Linked DNA regions of Homo sapiens: region 1 is linked to region 2. Evidence: promoter capture Hi-C in human tissues and cell types (Jung and others, 2019). All regions are on one chromosome and are shown on one strand. The core of a region is centred on a gene start or on the middle of the fragment in contact, and the rest is flanking DNA. Distances in the headings are between cores, read along the strand shown.

Region 1 (4,963 bases), core at 1,127-3,626, 880 kb before region 2:
CAACTCTACCTTGATGGCACAAAAGCAGCTGTAGACAGTATATCAATAAACGAACAGGGATGTGTTCCAATAAAACTTTATTTATAGACCCTGAAATGTGAATTTCATAGGATTTTCATGTGTCATGAAATACTGTTTTTCAAGCCATTTAAAAAATGTAAAAACCTATGACATTATGTTAAGTCATAATGAAAGAAGCTAGCCACAAAGGACCACCTATTGTATGACTCTGTTTATATAAAGTGGGTTTCTCTGTAGGCAAACCCACAGAGAAAAAAAGTAGATTAGCAGTGGTTGCCCAGGGCTGGGAGAGAGAGGGGTTGTGGGTGAGGGGTTTCTTTTGGAGGTGATGAAAATATTCTAAAAAGTGATTATGGTGATGGTCACACAACCATGAATATACTAAAAGCACTGAATTATACACTTTAAATGGGTGAGTTGCGCTGGGCACAGTGGCTCACATCTGTAATCCCAGCACTTTGGGCGGCCGAGGTGGGCAGATCACACTTGAAGTCAGGAGTTCGAAACCAGCCTGGCCAACATGGTGAAACCCCGTCTCTACTAAAAATACAAAAAAATATTAGCTGGGTGTGATGGGAGGTGCCTGTAATCCCAGCTACTTGGGAGGCTGAGGCAGGAGAATCACTTGAACCCAGGAGGCGGAGGCCGCAATGAGTTGAGATTGTGCCACTGCACTCCAGCCTGGGTGACAGAATGAGACTGTCTCAAAAAAAAAAATTAATAAAAACAAAAATATATAACGGGTGAGTTATATGGTAAGCACGCAAGTTATACCTTAATAAAGCTGTGTTTAGGCCAGACCCGTGGCTCACACCTGTAATCCCAGCACTCTGGGAGGCCGAAGTGGGCAGATCATCTGAGGTCGGGAGTTCGAGACCAGCCTGGCCAACACGGTGAAACCCGGTCTCTACTAAAAATACAAAAATTAGCCGGGCGTGGTTGCGGGTGCCCGTAATCCCAGCTACTCAGGAGGCTGAGGCAGGAGAATCGCTTGAACCTGAGAGGCAGAGGCTGCAGTGAGCCAAGATCACACCACTGCACTCCAGTCTGGGTGACAGAGTGAGACTCCATCTCAAAAAAATAAATAAATAAAATTTAAAAATAAATAAATACACCTGTGTTTGAAACTGAAAAACATTCTCGGTTCACGGGCCATAAAAAACCTGCCTGGGCAGACGGGATCTGCGGCTTCTGCTGGTGGTACGGTGGGATCTGGCTATGGACTCTTAATTCCTAACCTGGTACCCCAACTCATTCCATGTCTGCTCCTACTTCTGCCCTCCTCCACCTCCAGGTCTCTGAATGCTACTGGAACTCTGATGTCCCTTCTTCCATGAAGTCTTGCCTAACTCTCCCAGGCACTTTGTTGGCTGTCACTTAATGGACACCTACTATGTGCCAGACATACAAGAATGCTTTACCGTAATTATTCAATTTAAAGCTATCATCACAACAACCTAGAGGGCATTACCCCATTTTACAGACCAGGAAACTCGAGACCCGAAGATGAAAAAAAAAAACTAGCCCAAGGTCACTTGCTGGTGAGTGGCAGAGCTGAGATTCAAACCCCGGAATGAGGCCTGAGCATGTTGATCTCTTCTGGCCCCGCAGGACTGACAGCACCTAGAGGGTGGGTCAGTTGTTCACCCAGGTGGCGCCATCCCAGCACCACCCTGCAGGATCTAGGGAATGAATGAAGGGTCGCTGGCCGAGAAGAGGAAGTCGAAGATTGGGGAAGGGGCCGGGGCTTGTTCGAAGTGAGGTCGAGGGACTTCCAGGACCCGGGACAGGAGAGGAGGGAGCGAGACAGGAGAGGAGGGAGCGAGCATCGCTGTCTGAACGCCCAGCCGGACCCCGGGCCGAGCTTCCTGAGGGTGCCTGTGCGGCTCGGGTGAGGCTGATCCCCACGGCGGTACCGGGGCGCCGGCTACACGAAGCGGCCCTGGGGCTGGGCCAGCCGGGCAGGGCCGGAAGGCCTGAGGGTGGAGATGCCACCCGGCTCCGAGCGCGTGGAAACAGACACGGGCGGAAGCGGCGAGGGGGCGGCCGGAGCGGGGTCGCGAGGCCGGGGCTGGGAGGCGCCCACCTGACCACCCGCCCGCCGCCCGGCTCTGCGGCCCGCAGGCCCCGCTGCCTTCGGCCTCCGAAGTCGGGCCGGGCCGCACGAAGTACCTGGAGGGTTGACGTTGTCATTTCATCTCCTGGGTCCGCCCCACACCCCGCGGCGCTGCTTGCGGCCTCGGTCCGGCCCCGGGGAGCCGAGGTACTGGGTCCGGCGCGGGAAGCCCGGCGGTGGGCGCTGAGCGCGGTGCGCGGGCAGGGCGGCCGCTCGCAGCGGGAGCCGAGTCCGAGGGCAAGCGAGGAGCGCAGCCCAGAGCGGTCGGGCCCGAGCCGAGCGGCTGCCCCCTAGCGTCCACGGCTCGCACTGCAGGCACCTCTCCCTGCCTCGGCGAAGGCAGGGGGCGGTTCGAGAGGCAGGACTGACTGGGGACGAGGAGGTGGGACTAGGGCGAGACGGACAGGGGGCGGGGACGGGGTGGGTGGGACAAGGCCGGGGCGGGGCCTGGCGGGACGTACATTCTCGGGGCGGGGCCAGGGGCGGAGCGGGGTAGAATCCGGAAATCCTGACCTCGCTTGGAATAACAGCGCCCATTGAGCAGTTTTATTCTCACAATAAAACGAACTTATCAGAGCGTTGGTTTCTCCATGTTTAATATCGCACGATCATAATTAGTACCTGCCTTGTCTGGCTTTTGTGGGGAATAAATGAGCTAGCTAATGTAAACAGAGTGTGCCCCACACTGGGGCTCAATCCCTGGTGGGATGCCGCTGACTGTTCAAAGCCAGTTTTGTTTTGCTTGGATTGATTGACTGATTGATTGATACGGAGTCTTGCTCTGTCGCCTAGGCTGGAGTGCAGTGGCATGATCTCGGCTCATTGCGACCTCCGCCTCCCGGGTTCAAGCGATTCTCCTGCTTCAGCCTCCCGAGTAGCTGGGATTACAGGCATGCACACCTACTGTGTGCAGCGTTGTGTGCTAGTTTCTGGGGATACAATGATCAAAGCAGTTCTAGGGCTGGGTGTACTGGCCCACGCCTGTAATTCCAGCACTTTGGGAGGCCAAGGCAGGAGGATTGCTTGAGCCGAGGATCAAGACCAGCTTGGGCAACATAGTAAGACCTCGTCGCTAAATTAAGAAACAAAACAAAACAAACAAACAAAAAAACGCACCAGAGGCAAGTGATCCATTTGTCCACAAGTCTATCCTGTGAGAGAAAAAAAATGGAGGGCAAAAAACATCCAAGTTGAGGCTGGGTATGGGGGCTCATGCCTGTAATCCCAACACTTTGGGAAGCCGAGGCAGGCCGATTGCTTGGGCCGAGGAATTCGAGAACAGCCTCGGCAACAGGTGAACCCCCATCGCTACAAAAAATAAAAAACGTATCTGGGCATGGTGGCGCACACCTGTAGTCCCAGCTACTCCGTAAGCTGAGTTGGGAGAATTGCTGGAGCCTGGGAGGTCGAGGCTGTAGTGAGCCGTGACCAGGCCATTGTACTCCACCCTGGGAAATGAAGCAAGACCCTGCCTCCAAAAAAAAAAAAAAAAAAAAAAAAAAAAAAAAAAAAAAAAAACCAAAAAATTGGCACACCTTAATCTCTCTTCACAAAATGCTAATTAAATACAAAGGAGAGGCCGGGCGCGGTGGCTCACGCCTATAATCCCAGTACTTTGGGAGGCCGAGGCAGGTGGATCACTTGAGGTCAGGAGTTCAAGACCAGCCTGGCCAACATGGTGAAACCCTGTCTCTACTAAAAATACAAAATATTCGCCGGCCATGGTGGTGGGCACCTGTAATCCCAGCTACTTGGGAGGCTGAGACAGGAGAATCGCTTGAACCTGGGAGGCGGAGGTTGCAGTGAGCCAAGACCACGCCATTGCACTCCAGCCTGGGCGACAAGAGCGGAACTCCATCTCTAAATAAATAAATAAATACAAAGGAGAAAACAATGAGGACATTAGCTTGACTACGCGACCGAAGGGAACACCCCTGGTGGTGGGATGCGTGGCCCTCGTGTGTCTCTCCACATGATACCCTGAAGAGAGCATGGCATCGTGGCATCTCTGCCAAGAGTGTGTGACACAGCCTGGTTGTGAGGCAACACCGAATAGAGCCAGCTGGAGAGCTGTGCTGAACAATCAAAGCCTTGTGCTGAGACTCAGGCACATGCGAATTAGAGTAAGGCCGAGGAACATTCCAGACTGAAGAACTGAGACACGACGACAAAAGGCAAGAAAGTGGTATTGGCCAGGATCCAAGGCCAGAGAGGAAAACAGGACATGGCCGGGATGGCTGGCATCATTTGAATGGGGTCTATGGAATGAGTGGTGGTGTGCCAATGTTGATTTCTTGATTAGGAGGACTTTATGGTGGCAATGCAAGGACTGTCCTTATGTTTTGGAGGTCCTCACTAGAGAATTTAAGGGTGCTAGAGAATCATATTAGAGAAAGACAAGGTAATGGAATAAATATGGCAAAATGTTAACAACTGGAAGGTTTGGGTGAAGAAGATTTGTATTGTTTTTGTAACTTTCCTGTAGGTTCAAAACTATTTCAGCATTTTAAAAATTGGAAAAAAAAAACAACCCACGTGACTAAAGCAACTTTTTTATTTACAGTATAAAGGTTACAAAGGTATATATGTATTTATATATATAATACCCTTAAGTTACACATTTTCATTGTAATGTACAATGCTGTATGTTGATGTGCTACTCAAGGGGAAGTGTTGTTTATGCATCTATATTTATAGAGTATACATAAAGCTTTTTAAAATTAGGAACACAAATACTGCCCTGTTTTACGCGTTGGGTTTTTGATTTGGTATCCAGAAGATCTGAGACTTAAATTTCAAACAAGACTTAAAAAGAAGGCTTGTTTA
Region 2 (4,930 bases), core at 1,690-4,189:
GTCTTGAGTCTGGACTTCAAAGGGCAGGAGGTAAATAGCAGAACTGGTCTCAGGGAGAACAGGGCTTTCCAGGAAGCCATCCTGGGAATTGTAACATCTAACCCCTTCCTTTCCTTGCTGCTGACCCAGACTTCACTACCCTCTCCTAAGAAAGGACACACTGCTTGGTCCCAGGAAAAGGTCCCTCCCTTTGTCCTCAAGTCCTTCATTTTGAAAAGCACGGAGAAGGGCACAGCCCAAAGGGCTCATACTCATTGCTGACAAGAGTAACTAGGACAGGCCAGTGTCTGCCCTGGGCTACACAACCCCACCCCTCCCCAGCTGGGCTGCAACTGATCACGCAACCCTGCAGGAGTAAGGGCCTGTGGTGCCCACTGCATGCACCCCAAGCTCCTTTTTTCTGCCCTCAAGGTCTTGCTGAGAGCAGAAACAATTATACTCCTGGAATCAATACAGGAGGCTTGAAGCGCTGTGCCCCCAAACCTACCCAGATCCTTCTCAGGAAATCCAGCCCAGCACCAAGGTTTCCATAGCAGTCAGAGTGCCCTTATCACTGGGCACAGAGGCTAACTGAGATTTTCAGAACAACCCTTCTCAAGCACAGAGCACTAACCAGCCCTCATGCAGCATTGACTGGTGCCTGGCTCTGGCAGCCCCTATTACACTGAGCTTTGCAGGATCTGGCAGACAGCTAGACTGGAATGGAGCCCACTGTATCCAGCAAGAAAGCAGACAGGCATTGGCTTTGCCCACAATGGAGATTAGACCACTAGCAATCCAGCCCTGGGGCTTCCATGCACCCCATCTCAGGGTACCTGGTAGGCTGGGGCCAACTCCGAGTCTATAACACTGCAATGGCCTAGCCCATAGCGCATGTCTGCCCTGTCTATGGCACCCAATGTATAGCCAGCAGAGAGGGGTCATCTCCCACAGGGCAGCCAGATATAGTTACATCACTGAGACTGACTTTCCCCTGGCTTGACTAGGCTGACCTGCTCTGACCACAGTCACCATTGTCTGCTGGGATTTTTTATGTGACCATAGTTCCTAGACAGCAGAACCCAACTGGGCCTGGTCTCCTCTGGGCTCTCTGCACACGCTGCTGTGCATGACCATCTGTGTCCAGGTCTGCCTCCCTTCTCTAAGGCAGGGACCAAGTGTGACCTCCTCCAGCCCCTAGTTCAGGTATCGACAGAGGGTTCTGTGATCTGGGGACCTTAGGGACTGCCTCTTGCAAACATCCCAAGCTCACTTTTTCTCTTTCTTTATCAGACATGGAAAATAGGGGGTTAGATGTTCCAGTTCCCAGCATGACTTCCTGGGAAGCCCTTTTCTCTCTGTGACCGGTTCTCCTATTTACCTCTTACGTTTTGAAGTCCAGACTCAAGACAGTATGAGGACAAAGGGATAAACCCACCCTCCCCTTTGAAAATCCAGGATGAGAAGTCCCTTCTGGAGCAAGCTGCCCAGGCCCTTCTGCTGCTGCTCCTGCTCCCTGCAAATCTGCAGAATGGGGCAGGAGCGGGGTGAAGGATGCATTCAATTTGTAAACCAGGGTGGAGTGGCTGTTTGAGGCAGCCTGTGTGGCTCTTCTGTTCAAAGCGTTGCCTCTGGCACACTAGTCAAGGATTTGTCCTACTCTTTCTGATCATACACGGTTTATTGCCCTCTGCTTCCTAATGTCTTTTTACCATGGCCATATCTTCTTGGGAGATGCTCACAGGGCCTTTGAGCTGGAAAATCTTGGGTCATTAGCCTCTCTAAGTGAAGTCAAGTGAGTTTGTCTCCATGATGTTTACTTCCCTGCTCCAAGGATGAGGCCTTGGCTGCTCAGACACTCCAAAGCAAACATAGAAATGGGGTGTGGATGAAGGTGGACATAGCTCATGGGAAGTCTAAGAAGCTGACAGAGGCACAGGAAGATGCTTCCCTGTGGGTAGATCCACTAAGTGGCATGAGACCCTCCCCTCTCTGAAGTCTTCATCTTTCCTTTGCATTTCTGGGTCTCGAGCACAGGGAACAAGGGACTGGATCCTCAGGTGAACCTGTCTTGTACCTGCCCCCGCTTGCCAAGCTCCTCCCGTCCCCTCTGTCCTGCCCACTCCCTTCCTCCTTCCTTTCTCTGATTCGATGTTTCAGCTCCCACATTTGGAGGTGACTGCTCACAATGCATCAGCACCCCCCCCCAGTCATTTTTAACTCCCCATCCCACTCCTGTGACCCAAATGTTAGATGTTACACAGTTCTCAACCCAGAATCATCTTGTTGACTTCTGCCCATAGCACTAGGGTTGTGCTGTCCGGTATGGGAGCCTCTAGCAATGTGTAACTATTTAAATATAAATAAATAAGATTAAATTAAAAATTCAGTTTCTCAGTCACCCAAGCCACATTTCAAGTGCCTGATAACCATGTGTGGCTACAGGCTACCATATTGGACAGTGTCGAAACAAAACATTTCCATCACTGCAGAAAGTTCTGTTGGACAGTTGCTGCCAGAGCCTCCAGATGTCTTAGGGTCCCAATTCTTTCACTAGATGCATTCATTATTCCTCCCAGTTCTTCCTTGCCGTCTGGCAAGTTTGACGATACAGAAAAGTGGTAAGATCATCTCTGAAATCAGATAGACCTTAGTTTAAGGCTGGGCATGGTGGCTCACGCCTTAATCCCAGCACTTTGGGAGGCTGAGGCAGGTGGGTCACATGAGGTCAGGAGTTTGAGACGAGCCTGGCCAACGTGGTGAAACCCTGTCTCTTTTGTATCTGAAAATACAAAAGTTAGCCAGGCATGGTGGCACACTCCTGTAATCCCAGCTACTTGGGAGGCTAAGGCAGGAGAACCGCTCGAACCCCGGAGGTGGAGGTTGCAGTGAGCCGAGATCTCACCACTGCACTCCAGCCTGGGTGACAGAGCAAGACTCTGTCTCAAAAAAAAAAAAAAAAAAAAAAAGATAGACCTGAGTTTAAATCTCTGATTTAAAATAGGCTGCTGAGTGGACCTAGGAAGCCTCAGTCTCCTCATCTGTAAAATGGGAATAACCATATTGACCTACGTGGATTGATGGCAGGATTAAATGAGTAAATTTAAAGTAGCTGGCAGAAAGAAGCACTCCACAAATGAGGTTATTATTATTCTTGTTATTAATAAAAAGTTGAACAGCCCAGTGTGAGGCTGAATCCGTATGAAATATTTACATGTGTACACACAGTCAGGGTTGGAAAATGAGTGCAGTGACAGAAACAGCAATGACGAATGTACATCTATCCCTTGGCCTCTTGAGGATATTTCTATTTTGGGTGCTATTTCCACACCATATTGATTTTAAATCAATTGTTAAGAGCTTTTCATTGTTTCACAGTTTTCAGAAGCATGTCTCTCCTTCAGATATTCAGTAGCTCCCCCTGGCAACTTTCATCAATGAGTCACTTTTATGGAGGCCAAGCAGTAGGGACAAGCTACTAGGTCAGCCAGGAGTCAGCTCCAGGCCACTGTGGGGAGACCCACAGAAGCTTCTTGACATGGTCATGAACTGGTTGTCAGTGTGACCAGGGTGAGCCAGCTCACCACTCTTTGTTTTCTCTTCCTCCAGTCTCCAGTCCCCATAATGACATAATAAATGGGGTTGTCAAAGATCAAATAAGGTTATTGAATCAACATTCATTTCCTTGTGGGTACACCTGTGTCTGACATCCGTGGGGCTTGGTTCTACATTAAGCCTTAGTAGATTCTCCGTTCAAATGTTGACTAGATACCTGATCATGTAAACGTCCTATTTAGAACTATGCTATGCATCTTGCAAAAGTGGAACAGGATTATTGATACTGTAGTAGATAAGATGGCTAAAATAGAGCCTCTATTTTATTTTCACCTTTGTTGTGTCTTAAGTCTGAAGTTTATTTTCCTTGAGGAAAATCTAGCCCATCATCAGCACTAGGGATCCCTGCTTCTTTTTAAGCAAATCCACTCTCAGTGCTCCCTTAGCATCCTCCACATGGAATCCTCTGTGCTGGGGGTACATTGTCACCTCAGAGACACACATGTGATTGACTTCCTCGCGGCATAGTGCAAGGGAGGAGGGCTGACAAACCCAGGTGTTGTTCCTTCTGGGTGGCACACCTCTCCCTCTCTTTCAGCAGGGAGTGCTTGTTCTCCAGATCCCCACCACCCAGCCCCAGCCTGGGCTGGCCCGAGGCCGGATATCTTGCTGAGTATCCCACCACCCTCCCAGCCTGCAGATTCACCCATCCTTATTGCCTCACAGTGCTAACAGCAATCTGAAGAGCTTAGGGTCAGCATTGATGTGTCCCATGGCGCTGCCACCTCCCTGCCCCTGTCATCACAGCCTCCTTGGTTTCTGCCCATCCTTCTTCTGACTCTGGCTCCTTAGGGCCCGCCCCCCCACCCATTGTCCTCATGGCATCCAGTGGAGTTTGCCTCCTGTGGCTGTCACTCTGCAAAAGCCAAAGACCCTCTCCAAGAGATGAGGAAGCTGGGCCCCTTCGCTCCCTCCTACTGATTATTCATGTGAAACCTTGGAACCATCCAGCTGGAGGAGACCCTCTTGGCATGCAGGGCTCTTGCCCCTGCCTTCACCCATCCCAAGCAGTCTATTTCTTTTGAATAGGAAAGATTCTCCCTCACCAGTTCCAGCCTTGACTTCGGTGCACCTCCAGAGACATCCATGAAGTTCTGTTTTGATTTCCCATATACAGAGAATTGACAACCAAAGGTCTAAAGCCAGAGGTTCTAATTCTGGCCCTTGTAAGCCCTACTATCTGATAAGTGGGAGTGAGTGCCATGACTACCAACCCACAGGCACCATCCCATCAGCTGAGGCCCAGGCCTCTCTTCCACATCTTCCTGGGAGGAGGTTTCTGCATCTTTTATTAGGGACTGTTTTCTTAAGAACATTCTTCTGGTTTATAATATAG

Evidence for each region. The method cuts DNA at HindIII sites, captures the fragments that hold promoters and counts their contacts. A contact is called where the count stands out against the background at its distance.
Region 1: a contact is called between the fragment with the promoter of VPS4A here and a fragment that was not itself captured in region 2, in 1 of the 25 tissues and cell types used here (dorsolateral prefrontal cortex).

The regions. Positions count from the first base shown.
Region 1 is chr16:69,308,763-69,313,725 of GRCh38, reverse strand. It overlaps VPS4A (vacuolar protein sorting 4 homolog A), which reads right to left and starts at 2,376. Exons shown (of 11, transcript NM_013245.3): 1 at 2,194-2,376. The coding sequence starts at 2,214. SNTB2 (syntrophin beta 2) reads right to left here. Exons shown (of 7, transcript NM_006750.4): 7 at 4,674-4,963. RefSeq lists silencers at 1,912-2,461, 2,522-2,661 and enhancers at 1,604-2,553, 2,554-3,504. The HindIII fragment of the contact is 10,929 bases long and covers 1-4,963 here.
Region 2 is chr16:68,425,010-68,429,939 of GRCh38, reverse strand. All of the region lies in intron 1 of SMPD3 (sphingomyelin phosphodiesterase 3), which reads left to right. Among named protein-coding and RNA genes, the nearest start is that of SMPD3, 21 kb to the left of the region's middle. The HindIII fragment of the contact is 8,175 bases long and covers 1-4,930 here.